Regions from separate parts of the Homo sapiens genome. Here regions 2, 3 and 4 are each linked to region 1. Evidence: promoter capture Hi-C in 16 types of primary human blood cells and fetal thymus (Javierre and others, 2016). All regions are on one chromosome and are shown on one strand. The core of a region is centred on a gene start or on the middle of the fragment in contact, and the rest is flanking DNA. Distances in the headings are between cores, read along the strand shown.

Region 1 (5,443 bases), core at 1,723-4,222:
GCAAGAACTTGAAGGAAGTGAAAGTCTCCAAAGGGCAGCTAAGAGGTCTGTCTCCCAACCCTGGGGCCTCTCCAATCCTTCACGATCCATGGGAGGCGCCATGTCCTAGCCCTACCATTCTAGAGGGCCCGCACCCTCCTCTGCTCTGCTGGCTGGAAGGTCACTCATTCCACAGCTATCTGGGTCTGCCCCACGGAGCTCTCCTGCTGATGGGTTGAATCTTTTATGCTCATCAGACTCTTCTAGCGCCTTTGAGATCAACAAGGGGACAAGAGAGTGGAGAGAGAAGGGGTCAAGATTCTGGAGTCAGACAAATCTTGGCTTGGATCCCTGCTCGGCAGCTTCCCAGCTGTGTGACCTTCAGCAAGTTGCTTCACCTCTGTGAGCCTCAAGTGTCAAATAGGGATAATGACAATATCTGCCCCTACCTCACCAGGTTGTCGTGGGGAGTGAACAAGGTAAGAGATGCACAGCACCGTGCCTGGCATCCCATGAGCTCTCACTCTGTGGTGGCTCTTAGTACTATTAAGTCTTGTGTTCTCTGTGCCAGCACTGGGGGCATGGCTCATTCTTCTTTGCAGTGTCTCCCTATCCCCACCCATGCCTACAGCAGGCACCCCCTTGTGTGGTATGCACGTGCACACTTGTGACAGGGTACTCTCACATCTATTCTTTTGGGTGATCTGTACAACCTCTTGAGGGGGGCAGATTAGGAGTTATCCTCCTTTTCAGAGGCGAGGAAACTGAGGCCCAAAGAAAGTCAATGAGCTGTCCAAGGTCCTACAGCTAGAGCGTGGTAGGATTCCAGCTCAGCTTTCTTGCCCCCTGTCTGGCACATTCTCCATTGGCAGGCCCAAGAGGAGAAGCAGGGGCAGGAGAAAGAGGCCTCTCTTGCCTTTGTGCTTTCCTCTCCACCACGTCATCTCAGCCTCTGAGAAGAAGGGACTAGCAGTGATTCAGCCAGCCCGCTGCCTCTGGGCCTGGGGAAGATGCTCTGTACCTTCTGGAAGCTTGGCTTCTGGGGGACATTTCCATAGTCTGGGGCTAGCAGAGTGTGTGGAGGCAAGCTCATCCCAGCTCTGGAGGCTGGCACCGGCTCTGGCAGGGGTTGGGGTGGGGTTTGCCTGGACTACTCTCCCCGAAAGGACCCCTTCTCCTGGGAGAGACCTGGGGAAATCCCAGGGGCCCACTTGCCTGCCGAACACAGAATCTGGGTAATTGAAGCTGGGAAAGAAAAAGGGGACTTCTGGCTTCTGTGTGCCCCTAGGTACGTCTTCCTGATGTGGCACAGGGTCCCAGTGTCAAAGTGTCAGCTCTTTCTCACACTTTCCTCCAGCTCAGCGCCCCTGTGGTTTGAGGCCTAGCAGTGTCTATAGAGCAATCTCTGTTTCCCACCCCCACCAGCCAGAGAGCAAGGGGAAGTGGCCCTGCTCTCTTAGGAGTGGCAGCCAATGGCAGTCCTGCTGGGCCTAGCACCCTGCAGGGTTTGGACGGGGATGACAGAGCCCGTGTGAAGATTCATGAACCTCCCCCCTCCCCCGCCCACCACCACTGCAACCTTAGAGAAGCAGCTGGGGTGGGGAGAATACAGCCGGAAGTGGCAGCCACCCCAGGACCTGAGAGCTGGGGCAGGATGCACACCCCACTGCCCCGAGTCTCAGTCTTTCAGCTGCCTTGGCCTCCATCTCTGAGCTACTCCCCTGACAAGGGGGATCCACCATAGGGCACCTGGGCTGAGTTCCAGGGAAAATTGGCGGGGGATAGCCTGGGCCTCTTGGACCTAGTTCAGGCCTGCTTTGGGACTGTCCTAGCATCCCATTGGATGTGTAGGATATACTTGCTGATTGTCTGGGAGAATCCTTCAATTGAATTAAAGAATTAGGTCTAGAAATCCTCAAACCCAACCAAAGAAATCTGGAAATCCTCAAATTCAACCACAAAATCCTAGATCTGGCACAGCCTTCAAGGATTCTTCCAGTCCGGTCTCTGCCCCAGGGGGATGAACACCTCAGCCATCCATGACAGCTGTTTTTCCTCCTGGCCTTTAAAATCCTCCCTCCTCAGCCTTCACTCCTACTCACCACCTCAACTTAATTTCTCATTCCCCACCCAGGAAGAACCTGTATGCCCCCTGCATCCCACTGCACTTCCGGATGCCTTTTCCCCCAAGACTGGAATGGCCTCAGGCCCCCATCTCCAGGTTGGCTCCATCTCGGGTAGGGCCTGGGAGCTACCACAGAGCTGAGCCAAGTGGGCAGGGTCTGGGCCATGGCCAAAGTGGAGGAGGGGGTGGCAGTCCTGTGAGCATCATGGCTCCAAGCTGGGCAGCCCAGCAGGGCCCTTTGAGTGAGATGGCTCCTGAGAGGCCGTGGCCGGGGCAGAAGTGGCAGCAGGACCAGCGTAGAGGAGAGATAGTTAAGTACAAGCTTAGGGTTCAGCTTAAGCATTGTATTTTGTTATTCTCAAATTCTAGTCTAAGATTCTGGCCCCTAATTTTAGATCTTTTTTCCCATTCTTCTAGGGTTGAATTGCATGACTCTAGATTTCTAAGGATCTATTCTGTAACTCTGTTGCTCCAGAATTTTAAACATCTCTTCTGTACTTCTGTTAACCTTTGGGTCCCTGTCCCGTTGCCTTCTAGGTGAGTGGCCCTCACCTACAGACTCAACATATGGCCTTTGGCTCTTCCCACTTCCAAGAGTCTTGGAAGGGATGGGTCGAGCAAGCAGAGGAAAGGAAGATGTGAGTTCCCAAAATGCTCCTCACCTTTTTCTTCTGAGTGGGCTCCTTCTCACTGGCATTGGAGGGCTTGCGGCGCAGCATGGTCCTCCACCCTGGGAGACTCCGTCCCTGCTCTCCTAGGTGTCAAGATGCAGAGGCCTCTTGCTTAGCCTCACCAGAACTGCCCGGGGGCACGGCATGAACCGAGCCTTCAGCTGCCACTCTGACTGCTGCAGTGGCAGCTTGGGGGTGCGGGCCATGGACACCCGGCAGCAGCAGCATACAGGAAGCCCTGCCACGTGACCTACTCTTACAGCAATCGCAGCCCCTGCCGGCCCCTAGGGAGGAAGGAAGTCCAAGCTTCAGTCTCCAGAGATTCTGATGCAGACGGCTCTTGGGTTGAACAGTCAGAGAAAGTCCCTACCTTGTTGTCTCATGTCGATCATCATCAGTCCTTCTGCTCCATCTTCCTAGAGGTGGACAATCAGCTCGACATTATATGGCGTACCCAAGCCCTTTATCTCACTGACCAGAATCCAGAAACCAGAAGTTGGACCATCTGGCTGCCTGTTGGATCAATGCTCCCGGTCAACTCACGTCTTCAAGGTCGTCACTGCCATCACTACCACTACCATCACCCCTGTGACCATCACCACTGCTACCATCACTCCTATCAATAGCCATCACCATACAGCCATCACCCCTACAGCCATCAGGCCTGCAGCCATCCCCGCTGCCATCAGCACACCTATAGCCATTGTCACTATGGTAATCACCTCTACAGTTGACATCCTTCAGCCATCACCTCTACAGTCATCACCATTGCTGCTATCACCCTTCCAGCCATCATCCTTACAGCTGTCACCCTTCTGGACATTACAGCCAACCGCACTCATGACCCTCTCACCCCTATAACCATCGTCCCTACAGTCATCTCTCCTACAACCATCATCACATCCGTGCAGCCATCAGCCCTGCAGCCATCACTCCTACAGCCATCAGTACACCTAAAGCCATCATCACTAGAGCAGTCACCCCTCCAGTCAGTACCCCTCAGCCATCATGAGTATATTTATCACCACCACAGCTGAAAAGCACTTACAGCCAACTCCACACCTCTAGCAAGTATCCAACAGGCATTTATCAAACACCTATGCAGTATATTCAATTTGTGGGTTGTCTGTGGCAGATTTTAATAACTTTAATAACTTCTTGGTATTACAAAAGCAACTTGTATTTGTCATACAATTTCACAAACACATAAACAAAAAAAATTTCAAAATTTCCCATCATTGTCCTCTACACTGTTTTAAGCATCTATCTACTCTCTGTCTATAAACATTTTTTTTCTTTTTACAAAAATCATACTGCTCAGAAAACAGATAATTGGTTTGGGGAGAAGGGGAGGGGAGAGAAGGGAAGGGAGACATCACACAGGGTAACAGGAAGCTTTTAGGAGTGATGAATATGTTCACTATCTTGACTGTGGTGATGATTTCATGGGGGAATACACATGTCAAAACGTATCAAATTGTATACTTCAAATATGTGCAGTTTATTGTAGCTCCATTATACCTCAATAAAGCTGTTTAAAATTTTTTAATTAAAAAAGGTCATAATTCACACTATTGGTGTCTGCTTTTCACACTAAACACAGTATCTTTTTTGTTTTTTTTTCGAGATGGAGTCTCTCACTCTGTCTCCCAGGCTGGAGTGCAGTGGCGTGATCTCGGCTCACTGCAACCTCCACCTCCTGAGTTCAAGCAATTCTTGTGCCTCTGCCTCCCAAGTAGCTGGGACTATAGGTGCGTACCACCACCCTGGTTAATTTTTGTATTTTTTGTAGAGACAGGGTTTCACCATGTTGCCCAGGCTGGTCTTGAACTCCTGGTCTCAAGTGACCTCTTTGCCTCATCCTCCCAAAGTGCTGGGATTACAGGCGTGAGCCACTACGTCCAGCTGAACACAGTATCAAGATTGTCTCATGCTATGAAATAGTCTTCAACTACGTAATTTATAACGGCTGTGGAACATCCCATTGTGTGGATGTGCCGTGCTTATTTCACCAAGCCCTTGCTGATGAACTTGGGTTGGCTTAAATTTTTAAATTATTCATTGAACATACTTATGGTAAATATTCACATCCATAGTTTTTTTTCTGTAGGGGAAATATCCAGAAGAGGAATTGCTGGGGTCAAAGGTATGCACATTTTTAAGGCTTTCAATTCTGTGGTACTTGTGAAATACTAGGCTTGTCCACCCCTGTTCCCAAGATGTTCTCGTGACTTCCTCTCCGATTCTGCTTTATGCCCTCTGACCATCCAACCTTCAGGGTGAGCTCAGGGAAGATAAGATCTTTCTTCCCTAAGCTGAAACCATACATTCTTTGGCCTACTCAGTCGGCCAGGCAGACTCATGAAAAGATTCCACACCCCAGATCTCCTTCCCACTGGCCTGTGTTTTCCACCCTGAAAGTCCCTCCCAGGCGGCCCAGGGTCACTAGCAAGCGCGGTAACTGGTTAAGGCTTTTCGGCATATACAGTAGCCTGGCAGCCGTGTAGGGGACCCATCGGGCCTTTGGGGCTCTGCGTGACCAGGAGCAGGAGGGCAGCCCCAGAGGGTTCTGGGATTGGGGACGCCGCTGTAGTGGCCTGGGGCACCTGGAGCCAGAGCCGTGAGGGAGGAAGCAGGTCGCAGAATCTTCCGGGCCTGCGCAGCGGCT
Region 2 (4,889 bases), core at 377-2,876, 5.7 Mb before region 1:
TAATTCCTACGTGGCTAGCACAAACCTAATTTATGATGTAAATAGGTAGAGCGGATCCCTAAAAAGCTCTGCCCCTGTGGGTTCGCACTTGGCACGTCCCCCTCCGTGTCGTTGCTTCGCTGGAATTTCCAATGAAACAGTAACAGTAGCTAAGGTAACTGAGAGCGGGGCTGAACCTGGCCAATTCCGGAGCAGAAACGCAAAGACTTTCTCCGGGTCTGGGGGTGGGGAGACTGGCGTCGCGGACAGATTTCCGATTGCGCGGGGGTGGTGAGAGGCCAACGAGTGCAAAGGCGGTTGTCTAGTCTTTGAAGGCCGGCGGCTGGCTCTGCCACGCTCTCAGCAGGAAGGGGAGGGGACCAGGAGGAAGAGGGGGAGAAGGAGGAGATGCAGCGAAGAGCCCAAGGAGGGGGAGGAAGACCGGGGGAGGAAGGAGGGGCCAGAGGAGGAGCCCAGGCTCCGGGAAAGCCCGCGCGCCCGGCCGGCAGGACCTCGGGGCGGAGTCGCAGGCTCCGTCCGGCCCCCCGCGCGGCGACCCTCGCGCGGTGCGCCTCGAAGGGGCGGGCCCGCCTCGCAGCCTCCCTCCGGGTTTCGGGCCCTCCTTCCCCGCTCCTCCCTCCCCTCCCTCCTTTCCATCTCAGCAGCGCCCTCAGTCTCCCTCTCGCAGGCTCATACAAAAGCAAAATGTCCGCCATGTTCCGAGGCGGCTGCGGTTGTCGCGCCACGAGCTCGGCCCTCCTGCGGTTTCTCCCCGGGGCTGCTCCTCCCCGGTCCCCTCTCCCCGACCCCAGGCGCGACAGCTACTCCGAAGCCGCCGACGGCACCACTCCGCCCGCCCTCTGCGCACCCCCTCGCCGCCCGCCCCGCCGGGCGACGCAGGACCGCCTTAGGCGGGGGCAGGGGGGTAAGCAGCCCCCGCCGACTTGCTCCCGCTTCCCGCCTGTCCCCCCACCCGTAGCCCCTTTACCTTGATGCAGTACGGGGGTTCGTCGTAGGTGACCAGCATGTACCTGTCTCCACGGCTGGCCGGGTCCCGGGCGCGCAGCTGCGGGGCAAGGGATGACGGAGGGGGTCGCGTAGGAAAGGAGGGGGGAGGGCGATACAAACGTTACAGAAGCACCTCAATCCACACCCTGAAATCCCTCGGGAGCTCTCCCCATCTCTCCCCTCCCCTCCCTTTACCTTCAAGAATAACTCCACAGCGCCTTTGGCAATGTCCAAATAAGAGGTGCCCAGGTCAGTGCGCTGGTTCATAGAGGCGGACGTGTCTATGAGGAACAGCAGGATGGGCATCTTCCCCCGCACTCCTGCCTCCGCTCCCCACTCTCCCGGCCCTCTTGCCCTCACTGCCGCGTACGGCCACCTGAACCCTCAACTCTCGCAGAGCCGGGGAGCAAGGAGCAAGAGGAAGAGGGGGAGACGGGACGGGACGGGACGGATGGGACCGCTCCTGGCCTCCTCTTTCTGCAGCCCCACCTCCTCTCCCTCCAAGGGAACTTGAAAGTGTGAGCGTGTGTAGCCCTCGGGGCCCTCCCCCTTCCTCTCTTCTGCTGCCACCACTACTGCCGCTGCCAGGACTACTGCCTAAGCATCCGTCCGCGCTCACTAGAGCGCTCGCCCCAGACTGAGCGCCGTCTCTGTTCACTGACAACTTCTGTCTGCTCACCTACCATCGGCACCATGTGACCAGAACCCATGCCATTGGCTGCCAATTATGTGGTATTTGCATATTCATTAGATGACAGGACTAGGGGAGGGACTTGGGCGAACCCTGGGAGTTGAAGTTTGAACCCAGGCAGAGGGTAAGGGGAAGTGTTACGGACCCTCGCTAGGATTCTCCTTTAAAGGACTTGGAAGCAGTTCGAATGATTAGTTCGGGTGGTTTAAATGGATTTTTCTGTCTCTCTTCAAAGATGGTGATTCGAAAAGAAGAGTGAATTTGAGCAACAGTTGTACAGAAGTACAGAAGCAGATGCTTGGACAGTTTGCACAGAAAATTCTTCGCTAACTGCAATCGATCAATCCTGCCAGTGGCGAAGACGAAAATATTTCAGAAGCAGCAAACTTCTTTCCTGGCAGGACGTACTCACATTCCTTTAGATCCCTCCCCCGTCTTGATCAGTATTTGTGAGTTGGTTGCTGGCCTTGCATTCCACATATATCTACTTAGAAAGGAAACTAAAGCTTAAACACAGTTACAGTTACCTAAACTGGCCTTTTGTATGCACAAGCTTCTTCAGTTTCACTAAGCTCTTTGAAACATTGGCCTGCCTGTGATAATTCCACCACTGTTCCCTCTGCGCAGCCTTTACACATGGAGGTTTGCAAACCTAGATTGTGATTCAACTCACATATTTATTTATTTATTTATTTTTATAAATAAATAAAGAGGATCTCGCTTGATCGCCCAGGCTGGAGTGCAGTGGCCCCATCATAGCTGCCTGCAGCGTCCAGCTCCTGGGCTTAAGCGATCCTCCCATCTCAGCCTCTCAAGTAGCTGGGACCACAGGGGCAGGCTCTCAACTCACATTTATTGAGTGCCTATGAAGAGCCAGGCACCCACGGTAGCCTTGTTTAATCTTTGAATTAATTATGGCAGATGGCATTGTATTCAATTTTCAGTAGAGGAAAATGCAGCTCCCTGAGGTTAGGGTAACAATTACGGATACTCTCAGGTCTGGCTCTGTGAAGAGACTCAGTAAGTGGCCAACCACACTTGATTGACTACTTCATATGACACAATTTTAAAAATTGGACTTGTGTATTCCTGGCAATTACTATTGACAATGTGGAATCCAGGACTTCAATGAGTTTGCAGTTTCATTGAGGAGAGATGATGACATATACATACATAATATTTTATATATTTTGGCCAGGCGCAGTGGCTCATGCCTGTAATTCCAGCACTTTGGGAGGCCGAGGTGGGTGGATCATTTGAGGGCAGGAGTTTGAGACCAGCCTGGCCAACATGGTGAAACCCCCGTCTCTACTAAAAATACAAAAATTAGCCGGGCATGGGAGCAGGCGCCTGTAGTCCCAGCTACTTGGGAGGCTGAGGCAGGAGAATCACTTCAACCCAGGAGACGGAGGTTGCAGTGAACTGAGATCACACCACTGCACTCCAGCCTGGGCAACAGAATGAGATAACATCTCAAAAAAGTATTTTATATATTTTATATACACTCTCTCTCTCTCTCTCTCTCTCTATATATATATGTATGTTCTGTGTATATGTTTCATATATTATATATGCACATTCAATAACATTCTCAGAGAAATACGATTTTAAAAGAAGTCATATGGCAGTATATGAATCAGGGACAAACAAGGATGCAAGTTAAAAAGTGCTATGGAAACAATGGTCCAGTCTAGAAATTCATAGGATTTCACGAACAAGGCACAAAAAGGGAAGAGAGGGAATCTGGGTTGGAAGGAATGATATGAACAAAAACTCAGCCAAAGATAGTACTATGTATGGTGCATTTCAGGCCATTCTGGTGGAAAGTAGGGAATTAATGAAGAAATAAGGATGAAAAAGATACTAGAAGCCCCCATTTCCATTCCGATACAAATGTCAGTGTAGAAGGGCAATGCCTACATGGGCTAGGGTACAAAAAATATAGGACTGTTGGGGGCAGTGTGTTAGTTTTCTACTGCTGTTTAACAAATTATTACAAATTTAGTGGCTTAAAACAACACAAGCATTTACTATCTCACAGTTTCCATGAGTCAGAGGTCTAAGTTTACCTGGGTTCTCTACTTAGTCTCATAAGTCTGCAGTCAACGTGTCAGCCAGGCTGTTTTCATCTGGAGGTTCACCTGGGAAAGAACTGGCTTCCAGGCTCATTCAGATTTCTGGCAGAATTCATTTCCTTGGGGCTGTTGCTGGTGACCAGAGGCCACCTTCAGGTCCACCTTCTGTTGCAGGTCTCTGCCATATGGCTTTCTCCATTGGCTGTTCACAACATAGCTGCTACTTCAGGGCCAGCAGAGAAATCTCTTACTCCAAGATGGAGCCTTATGTAATGTAGATAATCTCAACTAGAAGCAAGTCACAGGTCCCACCCACACTCAAGGAAAGAATATTATACAGGATGTAACACCAAGGATTGGAGATCATGGGGCCAGCTAAGAATTGTGCCTAATATTAGATAGGGATGGGATTATTAAGATGGGGATGTGATTATTTCCTGGAAACAAACTTTGCCTAGTTCACAGTTTTTATGAGATGGAATCTTGCTCTGTCGCCCAGACTGCAGTACAGTGGCATGATCTCGGCTCACTGCAACCTCTGCCTCCCAGCTTAAAGCGATTCTCCTGCCTCAGCCTCCTGAGTAGCTGGTACTAGAGGCATGTGCTACCATGCTCAGCTAATTTTTATATTTTGAGTAGAGATGGAGTTTCACCATGTTGGCCAGGCTGGTCTCAAACTCCTGACTTCAAGCGATCCACCCACCTCGGCCTCCCAAATTGCTGGGTTTACAGGTGTGAGCCACCGTGCCCTGCCTGTTAAAGTCAATTTTGAGTAATACTGTACAAACTTTCAGCCCACCGAATAAATGCATTGGGTTGACTTGTTGCTTAGACTAGCCTTTGGTTGAAGAATTACAAGATTTCCTATGAGGAGTTTATATTTTATTTTGTGAATATCTATATGTGTATGTGTGTATGAGAGAGGAGAATAAGGACTGCTGAGCCATGATATACCCCAGTTTACAAATGGTATTTTAAGATGACATTAAAATATCTCCTTTATACTTTCCTCCCAACTTTTCAATGAGTGTGCCTTACTTTTATAATCAGAAAAGGGGCTATGTTAAAAATTACATTAAAAGAATTGTAAAAAGTTCTTCCAACTTGAATATTACTGAGACAATTTTCAAAAACGG
Region 3 (4,817 bases), core at 371-2,870, 5.8 Mb after region 1:
TAATCCCAGCACTTGGGGAGGCTGAGGCAGGCGGATCACGAGGTCAGGCGTTTGAGACCAGCCTGACCAATATGGTGAAAGCCCGTCTCTACCAAAAATACAAAGATTAGCCGGGTATGGTGGCATGCATCTGTAATCCCAGCTACTTGAGAGGCTAAGGCAGGAGAATCGCTTGAACTCAGGAGGCAGAGGTTGCAGTGAGCCAAGATCTCGCCACTGCACCCCAGCCTGAGCGACAGAGGGAGACTCCATCTAAAAAAAAAAAAAAGACAGTGGTCCCATAAGATTATAAGGGAGCTGCCCTATAGAGGTGTACTATTTTTTCTTTTATACCGTATTTTTATTGTATCTTTTTTGTTTTCAAACACAAATACTTACCACTGTATTATAACTGCCTACGATATTCAGTACAGCAACATGCTGTACAGGATTGTAGCCTAGGAGCAACAGGTCATACCATATGGCATAGATGTATAGTAGGCTATTCCATCTAGGTGTGTGTAGGTACACTGTATGATGCTCACACAACAAAATCACCTAAAGATGCATTTCTCAGAAGGTATGCCCGCCGTTAAGCAATGCATGACTGTAATAAAAAAGAATAGGCCAGCTGGGCGCAGTGGCTCACGCCTGTAATCCCAGAACTTTGGAAGGCCGAGGCAGGCAGATCACCTGAGGTCGGGAGTTCGAGACCAGCCTGACCAACATGGAAAAAACCCCGTCTCTACTAAAAGTACAAAATTAGCCCGGTGTGGTGGCACATGCCTGTAATCCCAGCTACTCGGGAGGCCGAGGCAGGAGAATCGCTTGAACCCAGTAGGTGGAGGTTGCAGTGAGCCAAGATCGCACCATTGCACTCTAGCCTGGGCAACAAGAGCAAAACTCCGTCTCAAAAAAAAAAAAAAAAAAAAAAAAAATACACCATTGACATTATTCATCCTCTCTTTCTTCGGCAGAAGGAATGGAAAACAATTTCAATAATCTCTTCTTGGCCAGGCACGGTGGCTCCGCCTGTAATCCCAGCACTTTGGGAGGCTGTGGTGGGTGGATCACCTGAGGTCAGGAGTTTGAGACCACCCTGACCAACATGGTGAAACTCTGTCTCTACTAAAAACACAAAAAATTAGCTGGGCGTGGTAGCGGACACCTGTAATCCCAGCTACTGGGAGGTTGAGGCAGGAGAATCACTTGAACCCGGGAGGCAAAGGTTGCAGGGAGCCCAAGATCATGCCACTGCACTCCAGCCTGGGCAACAAGAGCAAAACTCCGTCTCAAAAAATAAATAAATCTCTTCTTGACTTACTACAATAACCATATGTAAAGACTTCTTGGTGTCTACTGGTGAGTATCAAAGATCTATAGCAAGCACACATTAAAAACACAATTCAGGTAGCAGATTACCACAGCTGCTGAAGATGCATAGATTTTTAAAAGGCACATCAACAAAAATTAGACTCCACTAAGCAACACCACTTACACTGAAGAAATATAAAATTTGGGTAAATTAAACGTAAAGCAGTCAACTCAAGAGACTGAAAAATCAAACTGATAATTTTGCTTTATCATATATCTTTGCCAATCAGAACACGCAATAACCATCATTTATGATACCCAGAAACATAAAGAATTATTACACAGGGACAGTACTGAAACACGAACTAAAGTCCTGAACATGTAGCCAATGCAGAAAAATGTTAAGAACTTTTTTTTTTTTTAAACGGAGTCTCGCTGTCGCCCAGGCTACAGTGCAGTGGCGCGATCTCAGCTCACTGCAACCTCTGCCTCCCAGGTTCAAGCGATTCTCCTGCCTCAGCCTCCCAAGCAGCTGGGACTACAGACGCGCACCACCACGTCCAGCTAATTTTAGTATTTTTAGTAGAGATGGGGGTTTCACCATGTTGGCCAGGCTGGTCTTGAACTCCTGACCTCATGATCCGCCTGCCTCAGCCTTCCAAAGTGCTAGGATTACAGGCGTGAGCCATGGTGCCCAGCCAAAAACTTTTAAAATAGCCTATGTCTTTAAAGTTCCTTCCTTACTCTCCAACAATCACACTTCAGTATATACTGATGCCCATACCTGAAACTATCCCTCTCCCTCGCTATTCTCCCCAACTCCCAAAACGGTACTCCATTATATAGTAAACTGTACATTTTAGTTTATTTTTAATTTTTTTTTGAGACAGGGTCTTGCTCTGTTGCCCAGGCTGGGTGCAGTGGCGCAATCGTGGCTTACTGCAGCCTCTATGTACCGGGCTCAGGTGATCCTCCTGCCTCAGCCTCCCAAATAGCTGGGACCACAGGTGTGCACCACCACACCTAATTTTTAAATTATCTATAAACATGGGGTCTCCCTATGTTGCCCAGGCTGGTCTTGAACTCCTTGGGCTCAAGTGATCCCCCCACTTCAGCCTCTCAGCCTCCCAAAGTGTTGGTATTACAGGTGTGAGCCACTGTGCCCCGCCGATTTTGGTTTAAGTTCAAAAGTCAACTTGCAGCATCAAAAACTGAAGTCTGCCATCTATTATAAAGAACCCGAAGCAGAAAGATTATGCTATTCTCTGTTTACTACCTTCCCACATATGACTGTGGGTGGTATCAGTTAAACATGCACAATATTAAGCATTACTAAACTGCATATTTTCACATCTAACCCTAAATTCCCAAAGGAATAGATCTGAGCCTTAGCCTGTCCCCCAAGCCCATCCCATTCACTTTAATTCATAAGTCCTCAGGTGACCGCAGAAGTCAATACAGTTGAAAAAGAAATGTAGAATTTGATTTCATGAAAATCTTATTTGAGCATTTGGGCTTTAAAAAATCCTAACTAAATATACTTGAAAGTTACCAAACTCATCATGTGTTAGTGTAGTAGTTTAGCTATTGCCTCACCACAATAAAATAAATCTGATGCCACAATCCTTACCATCTACTAAGAATATTTGTATATGAATAAAAATTTGAAATATGTCACCTATTTTCCTTTAACATCCTTCTAAAGCTAAAATCCTGAATATGAAATACACAAACAGACTAATGGTAACAGTTACAAAATGTCTGTTCCCAGATTGGGGTGAAATTTTGCTATAAATTAAATATCCATTGTTTTGGATTCCTTTCGGAACTGTGACATGTATTTTTAAAATGTATCTCCTGGGGGAAAAAAATAAACCTGACACTGAACAGTATAGAACTGCCAAAAAAAAAAAAAAAAAAGGCACTTACCTTAATAGAATTTAGGAGCAGTTCACAAATGCACTAATTAAGGGAGACCAAGGATTGTCATTGCAACACATTTTTACTGTTTACGGGTAATGGTCAGAATGTTAACAGACAATATTGAAATATTTTACATATCAACTTCTAACTAGTTATAGCACCAGATCCTTGGGGCATGAGGTGATTTAAACCATTTTAAATGTAAACACTCATTTTCTTATCAGTTAAAAAAAAAAAAACCCACTCCACCCTCTCTGCCAGTCTCTGATACACCTTAGAATACTATAGTTACTTCACAGTGGGAAGGAATAGCTAATAAGTACATTTCTTTTCCAACCCACTTCTCTACCTAGTCATTAAACACCAAATTCTGAAACTGAATTCAGCTACCTAGATCTTTCTACCAGGAATGCTCCCTATGGTACCTCAATCCCTTCCACTGTCACTTACTGCAACTGCCAAAGCCCCTCCTATTAATAGTAAATCCCTTTCATACTGACTCACTGTAACTCCAACTTGATGAAATAGACACTAAGCAGAATTTACAAAAATTGCAAATGGAATTTTCCTGTTTTCAAAGAATTAAAAAGGAAACTAAAAGTAGAGCACATTCAGGCTAAGTTATAAACATTTAAAGTTCAACCAATTTATAAGTATTTATGTTGCCTGTTTTATACTAGTTCCCGTTTAAACGTTTTTTTTTTTTTGAAAGTTTTGCCAAGCATTGTGTAATCACTTACACAAGGCTAAATTTCCTATGCAAGTAATTTTGACATGTAAATATAAACTTAAGTCATTACCCCCAAGACTGTAAGACAATCTGGAAATTCTACTGCAAAAAAAGTTTATCTTAAACTATGGAAATGTTTAACAGCACGCACAAAAGTAGAGAGAATAATAGTAACAATGAGCGCTTCTGTATTCATCCAGCTACAATAATCAACTCAAGGCCACTTCTGCTTCACACCTACCTCCTACCCACTCCCTCCTCTCATTATTATCTTCAAAAAGAATTAAGAGGAAGATACTATGTTCTCTAAGTACACTTCTACCCAAAGATAGCAAAAGTATCAAAAACTAGCATGTTAAGTCAAAATCCAACAATGTAACTATACAGCCGCCTTACGCCTTACACAATTCTTTGGTAGGTGATAAATTTAAGAATTCAGTTAAACACAAAGATATAACCATCTTTAAGAATTTTAATGAAGTCCATAAACCCAAAGGGCATATTTAAAATTATACCTAAAAAGACAAATAGGGAAATGTGATGAAAACGAACTTAAACATCTGCAATTAACTTACTTAACGTGGCACCTTAGTTCAAAATGAAAAAAAAAAATCGACTATTTAACATAATGTGTCATAAAACTGCAATTCAACCACTTGAAAAACTGCTGAACACTTATATACCTTAAACTGGTCCTTCTGATCCCTAATTATAGATTGATATCAATGTAGAAAGAAAACCAGGCATTTTAACGTTAAGTGGTTGAAAATGTTGAAAATTAACCCCACTGTTCATCGGAAAGTATATGAGAGCAAGCCTAAACTACCTGAATTATATGTCATTAAACAAATGCATCCACTTCCCAGAGCCT
Region 4 (5,511 bases), core at 2,078-4,577, 5.9 Mb after region 1:
TGGTGGCTCACACCTGTAATCCCAGCACTTTGGGAGGCTGAGGTGGGTGGATCACGAGGTCAGGAGTTCGAGGCCAACCTGGTTAACATGGTGAAACCCCGTCTCTACTAAAAATACAAAAATTAGCCAGTTGTGGTGGCGTGCGCCTGTAATCCCAGCTACTCGGGAGGCTGAGGCAGGAGAATTGCCTGAACCCAGGAGGCGGAGTCTGCAGTGAACAGAGATCGCAGCCATTGCACTCCAGCTCTGGGCGACAGAGCAAGACTCTGTCTCCGAGGGGAAAAAAAGAGATACCAAAAAAAAAAAAATTAGCCAGGTGTGGTAGCACACGCCTGTAATCCCAGCTACTTGGGAGGCTGAGTCACCAGAATTACTTGAACCCAGGAGGTGGAGGTTGCAGTGAGCTGGGATCATGCACTGAACTCCAGCCTGGGTGACACAGCAAGACAATGTCTCAAAAACAAATAAATAAAATAAAATATTCAAAATACCCTTTTATTTTTTTTGAGTCGGAGTCTCGCTCTGTAGCTCAGGCTGGAGTGCAGTGGCGCAATCTCGGCTCACTGCAAGGTCCGCCTCCCGGGTTCACACCATTCTCCTGCCTCAGCCTCCCAAGTAGCTGGGACTACAGGCGCCTGCCACCACGCCCAGCTAATTTTTTGTATTTTTTTTTTTTTTTAGCAGAGAGGGGTGCCAGGATGGTCTAGATCTCCTGACCTCGTGATCCGCCCGCCTCAGTCTCCCAAAGTGCTGGGATTACAGGCGTGAGCCACCACGCCCGGCCTTAAAATACCCTTTTTATGTTTTGAATTCAACACCTAAAATAACATATCAAAAATGTGAACATGTAAAGAAAGATGGGGTCATTGACATGCACAATCCCACAGCTAATTGGAAACAAAGTCAATAACCTGTACTGTGGTACCCAACGTAGGGCTCTTTCCAAACACTGTAGCACATGACCTCTAAGATACAGAAACAGTATTTGTTAAATTCTAAAGTATTTTTTATCTTATCACTACTGTTTGTCTCTTCATATCTACTCACACAATGTCCTTTAATAGTGCTAACAGGTTACATTTTATAAAACTATTACCAGATTATCTCACAGAGATAAAGCTTGAGAATTGACAGCTCATGATAATCTCCCAGCCTCAAAAGAACAATGGAAAAACAAACAAACACACAAAAGCAAAATAAAAACAGACGAACATAAAAAAGCAAAAAAAAAAAAAAAAGAAGAAAGGCGGCCTGGTGTGATGGCTCGCGCCTGTAATCCCAGCACTTTAGGAGGCCAACGCAGGCAGATCACGAGGTCAGGAGAATGCGACCATCCTGGCTAACATGGTGAAACCCTGTCTTTACTAAAACACACACACACACACACACGGTGAAACCCTGTCTTTACTAAAACACACACACACACACACACACACACACACACACACACACACACACACACGAGAATGCGACCATCCTGGCTAACATGGTGAAACCCTGTCTTTACTAAAACACACACACACACGGTGACACCCTGTCTTTACTAAAACACACACACACACACACACACACACACACACACACACACACACACTCTAAGCCGGGTGTGGTGGCGGGTGCCTGTAGTCCCAGCTACTTGAGAGGCTGAGGCAGGAGAATGGCGTGAAGCCGGGAGGCAGTGCCTGCAGTGAGCCAAGATCGCGCTACTGCACTCCAGCCTGGGCAACAGAGCCAGACTCCGTCGTCTCAAAAAAAAAAAAAAAAAAAAAAAAAACAGAAGAAAGGCATTTGTTTTGCCATATTTATCCTTGGAATCCTACCACATACTACAATGAATGCCTGGAACACATTAAGTGCTCAATGAATGTTTATTTCATAAACTGTAGGTTTTGCTCTCTGCTAATACTACCTACCAGACTTAAATATTAGACCAAACAAAAACAGTGAAATATCATTATTTTATCGCTAAACATTTACAATATAAATACAGGATTTACTAAAGAAATTAATGTTTACAATGAAATAAAAGGAGAACATTTATTTACTAAATTAGTAAATTTATTTAGTAAAATTTATGTTACTAAAATATTTTAAGCACTATACAAATTAGCTGGTCCATTAATTATAATAATTTTGAGAAACTGCTCACTTCCTGAAAATGAAAAAAAAAAGGAAGACAAAATAAAATAAAAACCAAAGAAAAAAATAATAATTCTTAACTATTGAAATGGTCCTGGCTAACCTTTAGATATTATTACTTTGTCAGCCTAGTTGGAATCATCCAATGCACTAGAAAGCAATAAAATTACAGGTATAGTACAAGGGCCACTAGACTAGAACCTAGACTCTAGTCCAAGCTTTGCTAATAATCAGATATATTACGGTGGGCAATATTTTTTTTGAGTCTTAATCTATTTCTAAAAACGAGACAGCTGGGCCAGGTGCAGTGACTCACTTTTTCACCTGAGGTCCCAGCACTTTTTCACCTGAGGTCGGGAGTTTGAGACCAGCCTGACCAACATGGAGAAACCCCGTCTCCACTGAAAATACAAAATTAGCCGGGCGTGGTGGCGCATGCCTGTAATCCCAGCTACTCGGGAGGCTGAGGCAGGAAACTGCTTGAACCTGGGAGGCAGAGGTTGAGGTGAGCCGAGATCGCACCATTGCACTCCAGCCTGGGCAACAAGAGTGAAACTCCATCTCAAAACAAAAACAAAACTAGACAGCTGAACTCCTAATCACTATAAACTGTTTTAGTCTTAACTTTTTATTTGTTTTTGAGGTGGAGTCTCACTCTGTGGCCCAGGCTGGAGTTGAATGTTGCGTTCTCAGCTCACGGCAACCTCCGCCTCATGGGCTCAAGTGGTTCTCCTGCCTCAGCCTCCCAAGTAGCTGGGACTACAGGGGTGTACCGCCACACCCAGCTAATTTTTGTATTTTTAGTAGAGATGGGGTTTCACCATGTTAGCCAGGCTGGTCTTGAACTCCTGACCTCAGGTGATCCGCCCACCTCAGCCTCCCAAAGTGCTGGGATTACAGGTGAAAGCCACCGCACTTGGCCCTAGTCTTAACTTTTTTAAAAAATATGTTCTTATCTACAAAGAGTCTACAATTCAGATTTTTGTTTCTTTGTTTTGTTTGAGACAGGGTCTCACTCTTTCGCCCAGGCTGGAGTACAGTGGCCCAATCATGGCTCACTGCAGCCTCCACCTCCCAAGGCTCAGGTGATCCTCCTGCCTCAGCTCCCCAAAGTAGCTAGGACTACAGGCACAAGCCAGCACGCCCGGCTAATTTTTGTATTTTTATTAGAGAGAGGGCTGCGCCATGTTGCCCAGGCTGCAGATATTTTCCTTGTGTCAATTTTTTTTTTTTTCGGGACAAAGGTGCACTGTTGTCACCCAGGCTGGAGTACAGTGGTGCAATCTCGGCTCACTGCAGCCTCTGCCTCCTGGGTTCAAGCAGTTCTCCTGCTTCAGCCTCCCATGTAGCTGGTACTACAGGTGCACGCCACCACACCCGGCTAGTTTTTTTAGTAGAGGTGGGGTTTCACCATGTTGGCCAGTCTGGACTCCAACTCCTGACCTCAGGTGATCTGCCCGCCTTGGCGTCCCAAAGTGCTGGGATTACAGACATGAGCCACAGCGTCAGGTGTCAAATTTTTCTTGTGGTTTATTAAAAAAAAGGGACCTAATTAGCCAGGTGTGGTGGTGGGCACCTGTAATCCCAGCTACTTGGGAGGCTGAGGCAGAAGAATCACTTGAACCTGGGAGGCGGAGGTTGCAGTGAGCTGAGATGGTGCCATTGCACTCCAGCCTGGGAAACAAAAGCGAAACTCTGTCTCAAAAAAAAAAAAAATGGACTGGCCAGGCGAGGTGGCTCATACCTTTAATCCCAGCACTTTGGGAGGCCGAGGCGGGTGCATCACCTGAGGTCAGGAGTTCGAGATCAGCCTGGCCAACATGGGGAAACCCGGTGTCTACTAAAAATACAAAAATTAGCCAGGCGTGGTGGCGCATGCCTGTAGTCCTAGCTACTGGGGAGGCTGAGTAGCTTGAACCCAGGAGGCGGAGGCTGCAGTGAGTCAAGATAGGGCCACTGCACTCCAGCCTGGATGACAGAGTAAGACTCCGTCTCAAAAAAAAAAATTAATTAATTAATTGATAAAAAAAAACACCATGCTAATCTTCTTTGAATTGTTCGAATTTTAGTATATGTGCTACCACTGAAGCAAGTACCCAGATTTGATATTTTAAATGTGTTAAAAGTTTGCTACATTATTTGATAATCAAGAAGCTTAGGACAATTTCTAAAAATATATGACGACTAGTAACATATTATTTTTACTATCTTACATTAGGAGAGAGCAATACAAGAAAACGAAACATGAGTATCCAATAATGAGGTCTGCTTTGTCAGCTGAGTTGACCTGAATCATACCGGATTTTACAGTACAAACCACTGATATGTATAAATACATATATGCACATAAATGTGTACATACCATTGGTATATACTTGCTTATGTTGATATATATATTTGTGTGGGAAGGTGTGAACTTTAAAACTTTTCAATTATGAAATCAATACGAATTTATAACAAATTCAAACCGTACATTAGATCATGTGAAGTACAAAGTAAAAAGTCTTCTATCTCTCTTCTCCTCCATAAGTCATTACTATTAACATTTTTATTGTGTATCCTTCAAGAAACTATCTGAGCAAATGCAAGTATACACACGTACATGTGAAGGTGTGTGTATAAATCTAAACTGTTGCCACTTCTTGAATGTGGGGGTGGGGGGGAATCTCAAGTACTCCATAAGCATGTTAAATACATTGAAATACATAGAAAGTGGTACCACAGTCACTGGTACAAAGTATTATACTCTTCAGAAATGTGTGTTGAATTGAATACATTTAATTTTCATGCTTGGAGGCGATATGGAGCAATTGCGCAGTAAGAGTGGTGGGCAAGAAGCCAGATAACATGGGTTCTAATCTAACTAGTTGGATAGCCTTTAGCAAGCTATGAAATCTTCCTAAGCCGTGGTTTCTGGTTTTGTAAAAGGACAGGGTTTGACTAAGATCCCTTCCAACTCTAAAATGTTATAATTCTAAGATGGCCGTCTGTAACACTGTTCATTGACTATAATAAATATTATGGGGAAAAAAAAGAATAAGAAAGAAACACTACTGCAACCTCCAGTCTTACAAATTTCTGTGAGTCATTAAACTATCAAAGTATAGTTGTGACAGAACTAGCGACATAATTATATTTGAAAGCAAACTACTAGATTATTAAAATCTGATAGGTTGGAGTTTTTTAACAAAGGTTGGATTGACGTTGTTCCTTTTTCGAAGGTGGAGAGGGCTACTGCTTAGTTTGAGAATAAACACTCCCCTCCCCGAAAAGAAAACAATTTAAGTGTTATGGAGTTAAAATAATGAAACAAAGTCAAATTACATTTTGTTTTACAGAACATGCCGGAAAGGTGACTGGGAAAGCAGATTG

The links. Contacts are between HindIII fragments. The CHiCAGO score rates a contact against its expected background, and 5 or more counts as called.
Region 2: the fragment with the promoter of INTS6L here is called in contact with the fragment with the promoter of SASH3 in region 1 in 1 of 17 cell types (total B cells); the score reaches 5.7 in total B cells.
Region 3: a contact is called between a fragment that was not itself captured here and the fragment with the promoter of SASH3 in region 1, in 1 of 17 cell types (non-activated CD4 T cells). The highest score is 6.0, in non-activated CD4 T cells.
Region 4: a fragment that was not itself captured here is called in contact with the fragment with the promoter of SASH3 in region 1 in 1 of 17 cell types (M0 macrophages); the score reaches 9.5 in M0 macrophages.

Annotation. Positions count from the first base shown.
Region 1 is chrX:129,777,478-129,782,920 of GRCh38, reverse strand. It overlaps SASH3 (SAM and SH3 domain containing 3), which reads right to left and starts at 2,972. Exons shown (of 8, transcript NM_018990.4): 1 at 2,767-2,972. The coding sequence starts at 2,823. It overlaps LOC124905215 (a long non-coding RNA gene), which reads left to right and starts at 387. Exons shown (of 2, transcript XR_007068328.1): 1 at 387-458; 2 at 2,642-4,346. RefSeq lists enhancers at 1,015-1,064, 1,175-1,354, 2,622-2,681, 2,732-2,811, 3,062-3,221. The HindIII fragment of the contact is 655 bases long and covers 2,429-3,083 here.
Region 2 is chrX:135,517,397-135,522,285 of GRCh38, reverse strand. INTS6L (integrator complex subunit 6 like) reads right to left here and starts at 1,626. Exons shown (of 18, transcript NM_001351601.3): 1 at 1,183-1,626; 2 at 968-1,045. The coding sequence starts at 1,293. It overlaps INTS6L-AS1 (INTS6L antisense RNA 1), which reads left to right and starts at 1,612. Exons shown (of 2, transcript NR_046740.1): 1 at 1,612-1,719; 2 at 1,914-2,203. RefSeq lists silencers at 523-722, 783-1,052 and enhancers at 1,303-1,362, 1,393-1,472. The HindIII fragment of the contact is 2,771 bases long and covers 1-2,186 here.
Region 3 is chrX:123,963,357-123,968,173 of GRCh38, reverse strand. All of the region lies in intron 1 of STAG2 (STAG2 cohesin complex component), which reads right to left. Among named protein-coding and RNA genes, the nearest start is that of STAG2, 4.1 kb to the right of the region's middle. The HindIII fragment of the contact is 7,160 bases long and covers 1-4,817 here.
Region 4 is chrX:123,860,719-123,866,229 of GRCh38, reverse strand. All of the region lies in intron 1 of XIAP (X-linked inhibitor of apoptosis), which reads right to left. Among named protein-coding and RNA genes, the nearest start is that of XIAP, 3.4 kb to the right of the region's middle. RefSeq lists an enhancer at 5,430-5,511. The HindIII fragment of the contact is 1,936 bases long and covers 2,360-4,295 here.